Regions from separate parts of the Homo sapiens genome. Here regions 1 and 3 are each linked to region 2. The links are contacts of gene promoters, found by promoter capture Hi-C in blood cells and fetal thymus (Javierre and others, 2016). All regions are on one chromosome and are shown on one strand. Each heading gives the region's core, a stretch centred on a gene start or on the middle of the fragment in contact. The rest is flanking DNA. Distances are from core to core; before and after follow the strand shown.

Region 1 (3,667 bases), core at 84-2,583, 330 kb after region 2:
CCAAATATTGGTTATTGTTGTGGGGCTCCTATTATGCATCAAGAATCAGGCTTTTCATTTTCAAGTTTTTATACTACTTACTACAATATCATGTAAGAAAAGAAAATGCCAAGAGAGGAGACCAAAGTGCAACAGAAGCACTGACCTTGCTTACCTTTACTTGAGAAATTCATCTATTTAGAGAGGGTTCAAGTTAGGAAATGGTCAATGTGCACTAAAACTTTGTGCTTAAGAATATCTGTTAGTAATTAATTATTCTGTAATTTGTCAGTTTTGAAGCAGGTACTGATTCCTGGTGTCCAGCCATGGCTAGAGTGTTAGGCACCAGTTCCCTTCTTTGAGCTCTAGAATTTCAGCGCCTACATGGATGGCAGCCACTGCTGCTTCAGTGTGCTTAGGCCTTGGCAAAAGGCTCGGGTCAGAGAGGTAGGTGGATGGGCCCAGCCTAACCCCTAAAGGAGTTCCAGGGAGCAGCCTGGCCTGTGCGTCGGGAAACAGCCTTGGAGTGTGCCTACTGTAATGTAAGAGTTAACTAGTTTTCAAAGGAGAGAAAACACAACAATAAAAGGATGTCACCAGTTCCTTTCTTGGAGTGGTTTTGGTTTTGTAGCTGAAAAGTCAAAACTAATGTGAGAATTCATCAAGGGTTAAGTGGTCAGTTACATGTCATGGATTATGAATTCAACAGGAAAAGAGAAGCCAATGTCAGGATGAGCTGGAATAGCTGGAGGAGGCTTCATGGAGGATGGCAGGCTGGAATTAGGCCAGAATGATGGGTACAGTTTGAGAAGACCCCATATGAGGGTGTTTAAATATTTGATTTGTTCCCATGTTTATTGCAGCACTGTTCACAATAGTCAAGATTTATTTATTTATTTATTTATTTATTTTTGAGATGGAGTCTCGCTCTGTTGCCCAGGCTAGAATGCAGTGGTGTAACCTCTGTTACACCAGTTGCCCAACCTGAAATGCAGCTCACTGTAACCTCCACCTCCCCGGATTCAAGCAATTCTCCTGCCTCAGCCTCCTGAGTAGCTGGGAGTACAGGCGCGCACCACCATGCCCAGCTAATTTTTGTATTTTTAGTAGAGACAGGGTTTCACCATGTTGGCCAGGATGGTCGCGATCTGTTGACCTCGTGATCCACGCACCTCGGCCTCCCAAAGTGCTGGGATTACAGGCGTGAGCCACCGCACCCAGCTAATAGCCAAGATTTAGAAACAACTCAAGTGTCCATCAACAGACAAATGGATAAAGGAAGTGTGGTGCAGACACACAATGGAGTACTACTCAACCATAAAAAGGAATGAGATTCTGTCATTTGCAACAACATGGATGGAGCTGGAAATCATTATGTTAAGTGAAATAATCCAAGCACAGAAAGACAAACTTTGCATATACTTATTTGTAGGAGCTAAAAATTAAAACTGTTGAAATCATGGAGATAAAGAATAGAAGGATGGTTACCAGAGGATAGTGGGGAGGGGTGGCAGGGAAGCGGGGATGGTTAGTGGATACAAAAAAATGGTTTAAAAGAATGAATAAGATCTAGTAATTGATAGCACAATAGGGTGACTATAGTCAGTAATAATTTAATTGTACATTTAAAAATAACTAAGAGTATAATTGGATTGTTTGTGACACAAAGGATAAATGCTTAAGGTGATGGATACCTCATTTACCCCAAAGTGATTATTACACATTGTATGCCTGTATCAAAATATCCCATATACCCCATAAATACATACACCTACTATGTACTTGCAAAAATCAAAAATTAAAAAAGGATTCAATTTGCATACACAATGTTTGCTACAACAAACATTGCTTTGGATGTCGGGAGATACTGTAGAATAAAGAAGTAAGGTGTCTTGCCTTCCTACATTCAAGCTCTTTCCTGAGCTTCTTGTGAGAAGTTATTTACAGAGCACAAACTCGATTTAGGAGTAAAGTACATGCACCATATGAATAAGAGAACATTTATAAATTATTGCAGGGAGGTGGGGTTGCTGGAAACTAATATAAAGAAATTATCTCAGTTAAATGGGAGAAATCTGATGAGGATCAATTTTTTTCTCAGTTAAAGAATCCTTTCTTACAGGAATTGGCAAACTGCAGTTCTAGGACCCAATCAAGCCCTTTGATCATTTTATACAGTGTGCAAGCTAAGAATGGTTTCGATAGTTTTACATGGTTTAGAAAAACCAAAAGAATATTTCATCACAAGTGAAATAATATAAAATTCAAGTGTCAATATTCATAAGTAAAGTTTTGTTGGAACACCGCCACACCCATTTGTTTATGGATTGTCCACAATGGGCAGGCTAAGTAATTGCAACAGAAGGCATATGTGACACTCTCATCATTTTGCATCTGAAAACTGCAGTGACATGGTTAAACATCAACAGTGTTTTGGTGTCCCCCCCAAAGATGTGTAAGTCCTAACGCATGGTACCTGTGAACATGACCTTATTGGAAATATTATCTTTACAGAGGTGATCCAATTAAAATGAGGTTATTAGGGTGGGTTGTAATCCAGTATGACCTGTGTCCTTGTAAGAAGGGGAAATTTGGAGACAGACGCATAGGGAATATGATGTGAAGACACAGGGAAAAGGCCACCTAAAGCCAAGGAACACCGGAAGCCTCCAGAAATCAGAAGGGAAGCATGGGCTGGATCTTTCCTCACAGCCTGCAGAAAGAATCAATCCTGCTGATGCCTTCATTTTGGACTTCCAACCAAAGTCCAGAACCATGAGATGATAAATGTTTGTTGTTTAAGCCCCACAGTTTGCAGCTCTTTGTTATAGCAGCCCCAGGGACTCGTGCTCTTGCAGCCTCCCTGTCACTGGGAGACACCATGTGACAGTAAAACAAAGAGCTCAGCTTTGAAGACCAGAGCAGGTTCCTCCCCTGGGCTGGGTAGTCCTGACTCAGTGGGCAAGAATGACCAGTTGAAGTGTGCAGGAGCGGTTTTGCACGGTGCCTCTGTGGGACCCTGAGTGGCAACATTAGTGGTGGCCTGGCCAGCTCCAGTTCTCTGCATGATTTGGGGCTGCATATGTTCCTGGACTTCCTGATAATTTTCCTTGAATATTGCTCAAGAGGGAGTTACCTGGCTGGTTAACAGAGCAGGTTAAATTTAAAATTAAATAACAAAAAATAAATATCACTCTCTTTGTATTTCTAGCTTGGGAAATAGCTCATCTGGTTAAGCTTACAAGTGAGGAATTATCCACATGCAGGTTTTGAGATTGTGCAAACAGTATAGCCAATGAGAAGAAGTGACAAACAAAAAACCTAGATGTCAGGACTCCAACCCAGCCCAGACTCATCCTACCACACTGTGGGTTAGTTATGGGCTTTGAGCCAACTTACGTACAGTCACAAAGATGATCCTCATCAAAAGAGAATTTTATTGAATTTTTCTAGGAATTTCAATATTTGCAGAAATGTATTCATTTAGGAAAGTTTTAGGCATTTCAAAGCCTATTCCCAATTCAAATCATTTATTCACAAATTTAGCTCATTTTACTAGAACTCAGTAAATTTCTCTTGAGCACTGTTGGTGTTGACAGGCAATAAATACGGCTCTAATATTTTTCATCATTTTATTCTCAAAGTTGAGTTTCTCAGCATTGCATGGAGAGATGTTTGTGGCGGGTCT
Region 2 (3,247 bases), core at 147-2,646:
TGTGGTGCAGGAGCGGAACCCAGCCTGCCTTTTCCAAATGGGGAAGACCGAACTTTCCCACCAGCTCCCAACGCAAAACAACTTTCAAAACAACTGCCTCCTCCCTCTGCTGCGAGCTCTCTTTCATCCTCTCACATGGAAGACTGAAAAGGGTTGCATCCTGCCAGCATCACTGAGCTACGGCCTCTTAGAAATCACTTGGACCACAGGAAAAGAGGAGGAAAAATGGGTGAAGGGGAAAACAGCCTGCAGTGTCTTCTGACTTGCAAGCATCTCATACCAAATTGAAAAGGCAAAAACAAAACATAAAACCGTTTAATAAAATTCCCTGGAGAGAATTCCTTTAGGAGTCCTCAGCTACAAATAGCACTTTCCATTTAAATCTGAAAGTGTATGAATTCCCAGAAGTCACTGATGTACTACAGTTTACTGTAACTAAAGTTATAACAAATTTAGAAGACTTGGAGGACAAGCTCTGCTTCCACTTGTACATTGATGAGGATATTCCCCCAAAATCCTCCCTCACACTCAGAAAAAAACTGTTTTCCAAAGGCAAAAAAAGGTAAACAACTTCTGTAAGGGTTTTCTCATATAGACATGTTTGATAAAAATGAGGAATATGGGTATCATTTCCATGTAAGAATGTGTGTTTGTTCAAATGTAAACATAACATTCTGTGGAAGTCCTTCAAGGAGGTTTTTACATTCTTCCACTTCTCTAAATAGGATGCTCTTAAAAAAAAAAAAGTTGGATGCAAAGTTGTTTTTCCCTCAGTTATGATTTAAGCAAACCTGCTTATTTTTATTTAGTTCCAACATGTAGAGTCATGACGCCAAACACATGTTAAAAATAAAATAAAATAGAAAACTTCAGCCAACCCGGAATAGTTTGACGAGTGTGAGCTGGAACCACTACTGAAATTTCAATGAATTGGCAATTATGTCTAGAACTGAAAGGGTTAATGATTCATAAGGAAAGTCTCACAAATGTTTGACAGCACTAAGTGCACTAAAGCAGAAGCATGTTTCTACTGCGACATTAGCCAAAAAAAATTAATAATAATAACAATAAAGGAAAAGAAAATAAAGTTTTCAGATCAATTTCAGAATTAAAAAAAAAAAATTCAAGTTCCTTACCAAGGTCGTACCCACACGTTTTTCCAAGCAAATATCCAACATCTGAGAAAAGTCTCGTTCATCTCTACCCAGTCCACATTCTCCCCGCGTCCCCCGCCAGGCTGAGCCGCACAGACGCGCACCTCGGCGGTCCCTCCTCGCTTCGTCCGGCCGCCCGGGCGCCCGCGTCCCAGCTCCGGGCGGACAGGTGCCGCGGTCGCTGCTCTTGCCTCTCCGCAACACTGGAGGGCCGAGTGTCACGGCAGCACTTTGTCTGTGTTAACCGTCTGGCTTCCCCTCCCTGCTTAAGATTTCCTTAGCCACTCGGCTGCGCGAAGTGGGGGCGTGGCCAACGTGGCCAACACCACCTGGCCGAGCCCAGGGCTTTCCCCCAGATTGCTAGCACAGCCGCCGAGAGCTTCCTCTCTTCGCATGTGTATTTCAACATTGACTTGGAATCTTCTTACTTCCCTTTGAAGGCACTTAACCTCAACGCTTACTTGGGCTCTATTGTATTCTAAACACTCCAGATCGCCCTCCTTCCTGGCGCGGCAGAATTAGGGGGCGCACGTTCCTTAAATTAAGGAAACTTAAAATTTACCTACACAGTTTCTGATTTCTCAGCTCAAATCCCCAGGTACAAAAGACACAAATCTTACTTCAAAAGAGCAAGTTAAATTGTTTTTGCAGCTAGTGTAATACAGTGGAGCTGTCTGGTCCTCAAGCTGTTGTGTATGTAACGCACGTTTCCCCGCCCCCCGCCCCAAAAGTTGTAACATTCCGTTTCTCCTGCTAACGTTCAAACTTGGCAGAACTAACTTTCCTCTTTTAACTATTTAGTAAATAGGGAAATAGGCAAAAGTTATAATTCTACAGATTGTTTGTTTTCCTTTCCTCTCCTCCCAGAACCCACAGGCTGACTTCCCAGGAGTGTAAGTAAAATGTAGAGCATTAGTCGTTTCACAGTTCAGAGGAATATTGAACTGATCACTGCAAGTGGAAAGCGGTCGGAGGCAGTAATTAGTGGGGCTTATTCTGAGCCCCGGCCAGCTTTTCCTCCAGCCCAGTCAGTCCTCTGTTGAAGGAAGGACATCCTGTGATGATGGCATACAATGTCCTGTTTGTTTATTATTAAGAGCGTGGACCTTGCATTCCTGCTTCTCATTACAAAACAAACCAGATGCTTTACTTCCTTCAATGGTCTTGTGCCTTCAGCAAGGAATCCTTTAATTCAGAGAAACAATGTTTATAGCAAACACCCCATTTCAATTATTATTTAGATCATTGAAATCCAGGTCTTCCATTTTTCCTGCTTGCCTTACCATAGGTAGGTTTTTTTAAAATCATTTCTCCTTCGACCTGCAATGTCTTTTCTAACATTTTAAATACACGTGTGCACACACATCCACCCACACACACACCCACATACACACACCCAGTTCCAACCTAATGATACCAACTTAGTCATACAATGAAATGGACATCTGAGTATTTGTTTACAGGAAGAAATGAAACAAAGCAAAACAAAAGCCCAACTCAATCCTAAAAAATATGTCTGTTTATCTTTAAAATTTCTTTTCTCACTTTTAGAAAACTTTTCTAGAATTTTTTTTAGGGGAGAGGGGGAGAGGCAAAAGATTATTTGCCAGGAAATGGTGTCTAAAGTCTTGCTGCAATCTCTCTCTCAGTACAGAACAATTAAATTCCCACTAGGGGACATGATTAGCACACACTCGCTGCTTGCTGCGTGGCCCACCTGTGATTGCATGTTATGCCAGAGGGGACGCTAGCACCAAGAGGAAGCAGGACTTTTAGAAGGCAGATCTGCTGGGGGTGGAAAACTGAATGAACAATTCCTAAGAGTCCTCAGAAAGCTCCAAGCTGATAATTAAACAAGAGAAATCCAGCCTGCTCAAGAGGGTTTATTAACTGATGCTGAGTCAGCACCACAATGGACAGAAAAACAATGTAGTCATACTGAAGGCTGGCCTGCTGTTCAAACAGTCTCACTTGCAGATGTTAAAGAGTATTTCACTTCCCTTTTAGAATCAAACTCTGTTCTTAGGCCACATACACCATCATGCAACTGCTGGTGAGTCAACCATGATAGAGTAAGGGAATAGGCAAAAAGT
Region 3 (3,753 bases), core at 164-2,663, 360 kb before region 2:
ATGGCTATTCTCAGACAAATCCCAGAATTGTGAGACCTAAAGCTTATATAAGAAGGGGGCGGGCCTCTTTAATAAAAAGAAAAGAGAATCTCTTACTTTCTCAAGATTGACAGTGCTAGGGCCTCTCCAAAGCCCTTGAAAGTGGCCCTGATAAATCTAGTTCGAGTTTTCCTAATGTTGGTCTACACCACCAAGTTGTTCCTTAAGCATTTAAATATGTGTAGCCTAATATAAGGCAAGTTAAATAAGTTTTTTAATAATTCTTGTTTTATAGTAATGTACATCCAAAATAATAAAATGTAGCATAAAAGTTTAGGTTTAACTATAGTTTATAAGTTATAAATTGATGCTGTACTGCCATCTATTGTCTATCCAAAGAATTATTACTGTGTTCAACTGAGCCTCAGAGTTGTGATTTCAAAGTTACCAAAAAGTGCTTCCACCTGCATTGAATTGAATTATTTCCTCAAGGGAACCTAAGACACCAGATACTAGAACCACTCTTCTGAATTAAGGCATTGGTTGTAACATGCATAAGTTTTCTGGCCACAAAGGAAGGAGAAAACTTAATTCACTAACAAATGGCACTAATAGTGTGCATGGTGTTTCTTTACTGCAACTGCTAAATGGTAGAGAGCAACCATTTACTGAGCAACCTCTTTCCTGCTAACATTAGACCCTGTATTAGATTACGGACACATACCATCAGATAATGCTAGACCTGAAAAAGTCCCTGGTGATTACCTGGTTCAGTCACTTTATTGCAGATTTGAAGAGACATTGTTCCTCAGAAACCATGTGACTGACTGACAGTGTTGTGCCTGCTGGTTACCCATGTACATGGTACTGGAAGCCCAGGCTCACAAAGAGGCATCTAATGACAGTGTGAGGATAGAGCCATGTAAATCTCTCCCATCTCCAGAAATAAAACAAAACCCCACAATCTATTTCCCTTGGAAAACCTAGAATTTTGGATTTACAGAATGGGTTTTTCCTTCAGAAGCAGTGTTGTCTTCAAATTTGTATTTTTTCTCAGCTGAATAAAGGATCAAATATAGCAATGTATACACACAGATTTCAGAGTCATACCAGCCTGGCCATTAGCTATATGATCTTGAGCTAGTTACTTCTTTAAGCCTCAGTTTCTTCATCTGCAAAATGGGAGTGATAAATTGTTAAGAGAATTAAATTAGGTAAAACTTGTAAAATGCTTAGCCTAGTACTGCCATATAGTAGGTTCTCAATAAGTATCAGCTATTGTAATTATGCATATGAATGTCAGTTGACATGTCCTGAATAATAATTTATAAGGAATTATATAGATGGTACTTTGAGCTAGCATATTTATCAGGCTCAGATATGAAAGGAGAATGTCTGGGTTGGAAGATCCCTTAGAGATAATCTAGTGACCCAACCATACCATTTTTCAGATGAGTTCATTGAGGCCCAGAGATATTCATTGTTCAAAGTCACACGGCTAATGACAGAGTTAGGAGTAGAGAACCCACCCAACTCCTCACTCAGAGACTAATTTTAAATTCTCAGTAGATGAGTTTCACGATCACAAAATTCCAAGTTGGATGGGGAAATGAAAATAATTTGCTATGCTCATTCGAGTTTTTAAAATACAAAGCATCCTCAAAGTTACAGGTATGTAAAGGATGCTACACCACTAACCCAAGTATTTCTTGTTGCCAATGGTAATAGAATGCAGAAACTCTGCCATCTAGTGGTTGCACAAGAATATCACTCCTCTACTCATCCTTTTTTGTCCAGTCAGCCTCTACTTCCTGATTGCATTCACCTTCCTGGGCACTTTGATGGTTTTTGTTTGTCTGTTTGTTTGTTTGTTTTGTTGGTTTTTGTAAAGACGGGGTCTCACTATGTTGCCTAAGCTGGTTTTGAACTCCTGGTCTCAAATGATTGTCTTGCCTCAGCCTCCCAAAGTGCCAGGATTACAGGTGTGAGCCACCAAGTCTTTCAAAATGGCAGCCTGAAGGCTGGGAGCCATCTCCCAATATGCTGTGTGGTGCAGAAATGTTTAAGTTCCCCCTCACACCTGACCAGTGGAATGCAAATCATCTCTCCAACAAAGGCTGGAAATGTTTGCCTTAATACTTCTATCTTGTGAAATCGAGGCTTTGGGTGCTACCGAGTCTGTGAAAGTTAAGCAAAATATCTCAGGACCACTAGTATGTTGATTTTGATGATTTCGGATCACTCCACATGATTAACGAACCATGAAACTCGCCCAGAACCAGGCTAGGTTCCACAAGGTTTGGCTTTATTAGCATTGGTCCCAGAGGAAGAAATGATTTCATTCTGGGCACAAGCAAAGAGAAGCCAAGGCCGAGGACCAAACAACCAGGAGAATTGTGCAAATCCCCAGGAGAACTGAGGAACCGAGGTCTGTGCCTCAAGGAACGGCTCGGTTTTATCAAGAGTATTGTGTTTCACGCGTGATTGCACATGCTCTGATTTAGAGAAGCTGAAGGTCATGGCATTTTTTTCAGCTTCTCTTTATAAGAGTCAAGTTGGACAAGTTTTGTTTTCAGTTGTCGAAATACAAAAGAAGATTTTTTTGATTGCTGGAATTTTCCTTTTAAGGCAATTCAAATTCTTATCATCTAATGGCAGAGAAGAGAAAATGTAGCTTTTATTTTGACAGTGTCAATACTCCCCAAAGAAAGACTAATGATCTTACTAAGCTCATGAATAACAAATTAATAATGCAAAAGAGGGTATTTTCAATTGTTAGCCTTTGTAGCACCAAACAAAGCTTCTGGTGATATTACCATGGAGCAGGCAAGGAGGAAAAAGCCTGGCAGAATATGGTTATATTAATGGATACAAAAATACAGTTAGATAGAATGAATAAGATCTAGTATTTCATAGCACAACAGGGTGACTACAGTCAACACTACTTTATTGTACATTAAAAAATAACTAAAAGAAAATAATTGGATTGTTTGTAACACAAAGGAAGGATAAATGCTTGAGGTGAAAGATACCCCATTTACCCTGATGCAATTATTACACATTATATGCCTGTATCAAAATATCTCATGTATTCTATAAATATATACACTTACTATGTACCCACAAAAACTAAAAATGAAAAAAAAATTATGTGGTTATAGGCACAAGGGTAGAGAAATAGTCCTAAAGTACCAGGGGCAACTCTGAGGAGTCATCTTTGAGCCCTCCTGCTCCAATCAATCCACCTCTGATCACTCATCAAGGGGTCCTTTGTCATCGCATTTGAACTTGCTTTGAGGGACACTATAAGATGCAGCCACGTAGAACTCTTGGTTGGACCTATTGCAGGGATGCCAAGAAGGATGTTAGGTACCATCTTACTTAATATCCTTTATATGGAGACTGAAGGGAAAGATTTCTCTCATTCTGAAATGCCAAGAAAAGCTTTTCTCTTTTTCACTCCTTGTCTTTTAGACAATGAGGTCCATGTACTTGATCATGAATCAATTTTAACAATTATATAAAACATTATGAATGTGTGTTTCTGTAAAGTAATTGTTTCTCTTATCACACTATCATTCTTTTAGTGTTCTGATCTGTATTTATTTGCATTGTCAATTGGATGCAAACTACTGTAAATCTTTTAGAGGAAGAAGTGACAGGGAGGCAGTTATAAATACAAGAAAACTGTTTCTTCCACCTCACCAGTATGACATCCATCTACTCTTGTGCATTCCAACCACTACTATCCTACTTCTAAACTTCATTATGTCT

Evidence for each region. The method cuts DNA at HindIII sites, captures the fragments that hold promoters and counts their contacts. A CHiCAGO score of 5 or more calls a contact.
Region 1: a contact is called between a fragment that was not itself captured here and the fragment with the promoter of PRDM1 in region 2, in 14 of 17 cell types (M2 macrophages, activated CD4 T cells, monocytes and 11 more). The highest score is 18.5, in M2 macrophages.
Region 3: a fragment that was not itself captured here is called in contact with the fragment with the promoter of PRDM1 in region 2 in 3 of 17 cell types (activated CD4 T cells, non-activated CD4 T cells and M0 macrophages); the score reaches 6.1 in activated CD4 T cells.

The regions. Positions count from the first base shown.
Region 1 is chr6:105,749,541-105,753,207 of GRCh38, reverse strand. No RefSeq gene overlaps it. Among named protein-coding and RNA genes, the nearest start is that of LINC02836, 120 kb to the right of the region's middle. The HindIII fragment of the contact is 3,770 bases long and covers 1-3,218 here.
Region 2 is chr6:106,084,485-106,087,731 of GRCh38, reverse strand. PRDM1 (PR/SET domain 1) reads right to left here and starts at 1,396. Exons shown (of 7, transcript NM_001198.4): 1 at 1,137-1,396. The coding sequence starts at 1,178. RefSeq lists enhancers at 1,049-1,768, 2,946-3,015. The HindIII fragment of the contact is 5,820 bases long and covers 1-3,247 here.
Region 3 is chr6:106,443,082-106,446,834 of GRCh38, reverse strand. All of the region lies in intron 1 of CRYBG1 (crystallin beta-gamma domain containing 1), which reads right to left. Among named protein-coding and RNA genes, the nearest start is that of CRYBG1, 84 kb to the right of the region's middle. The HindIII fragment of the contact is 2,737 bases long and covers 45-2,781 here.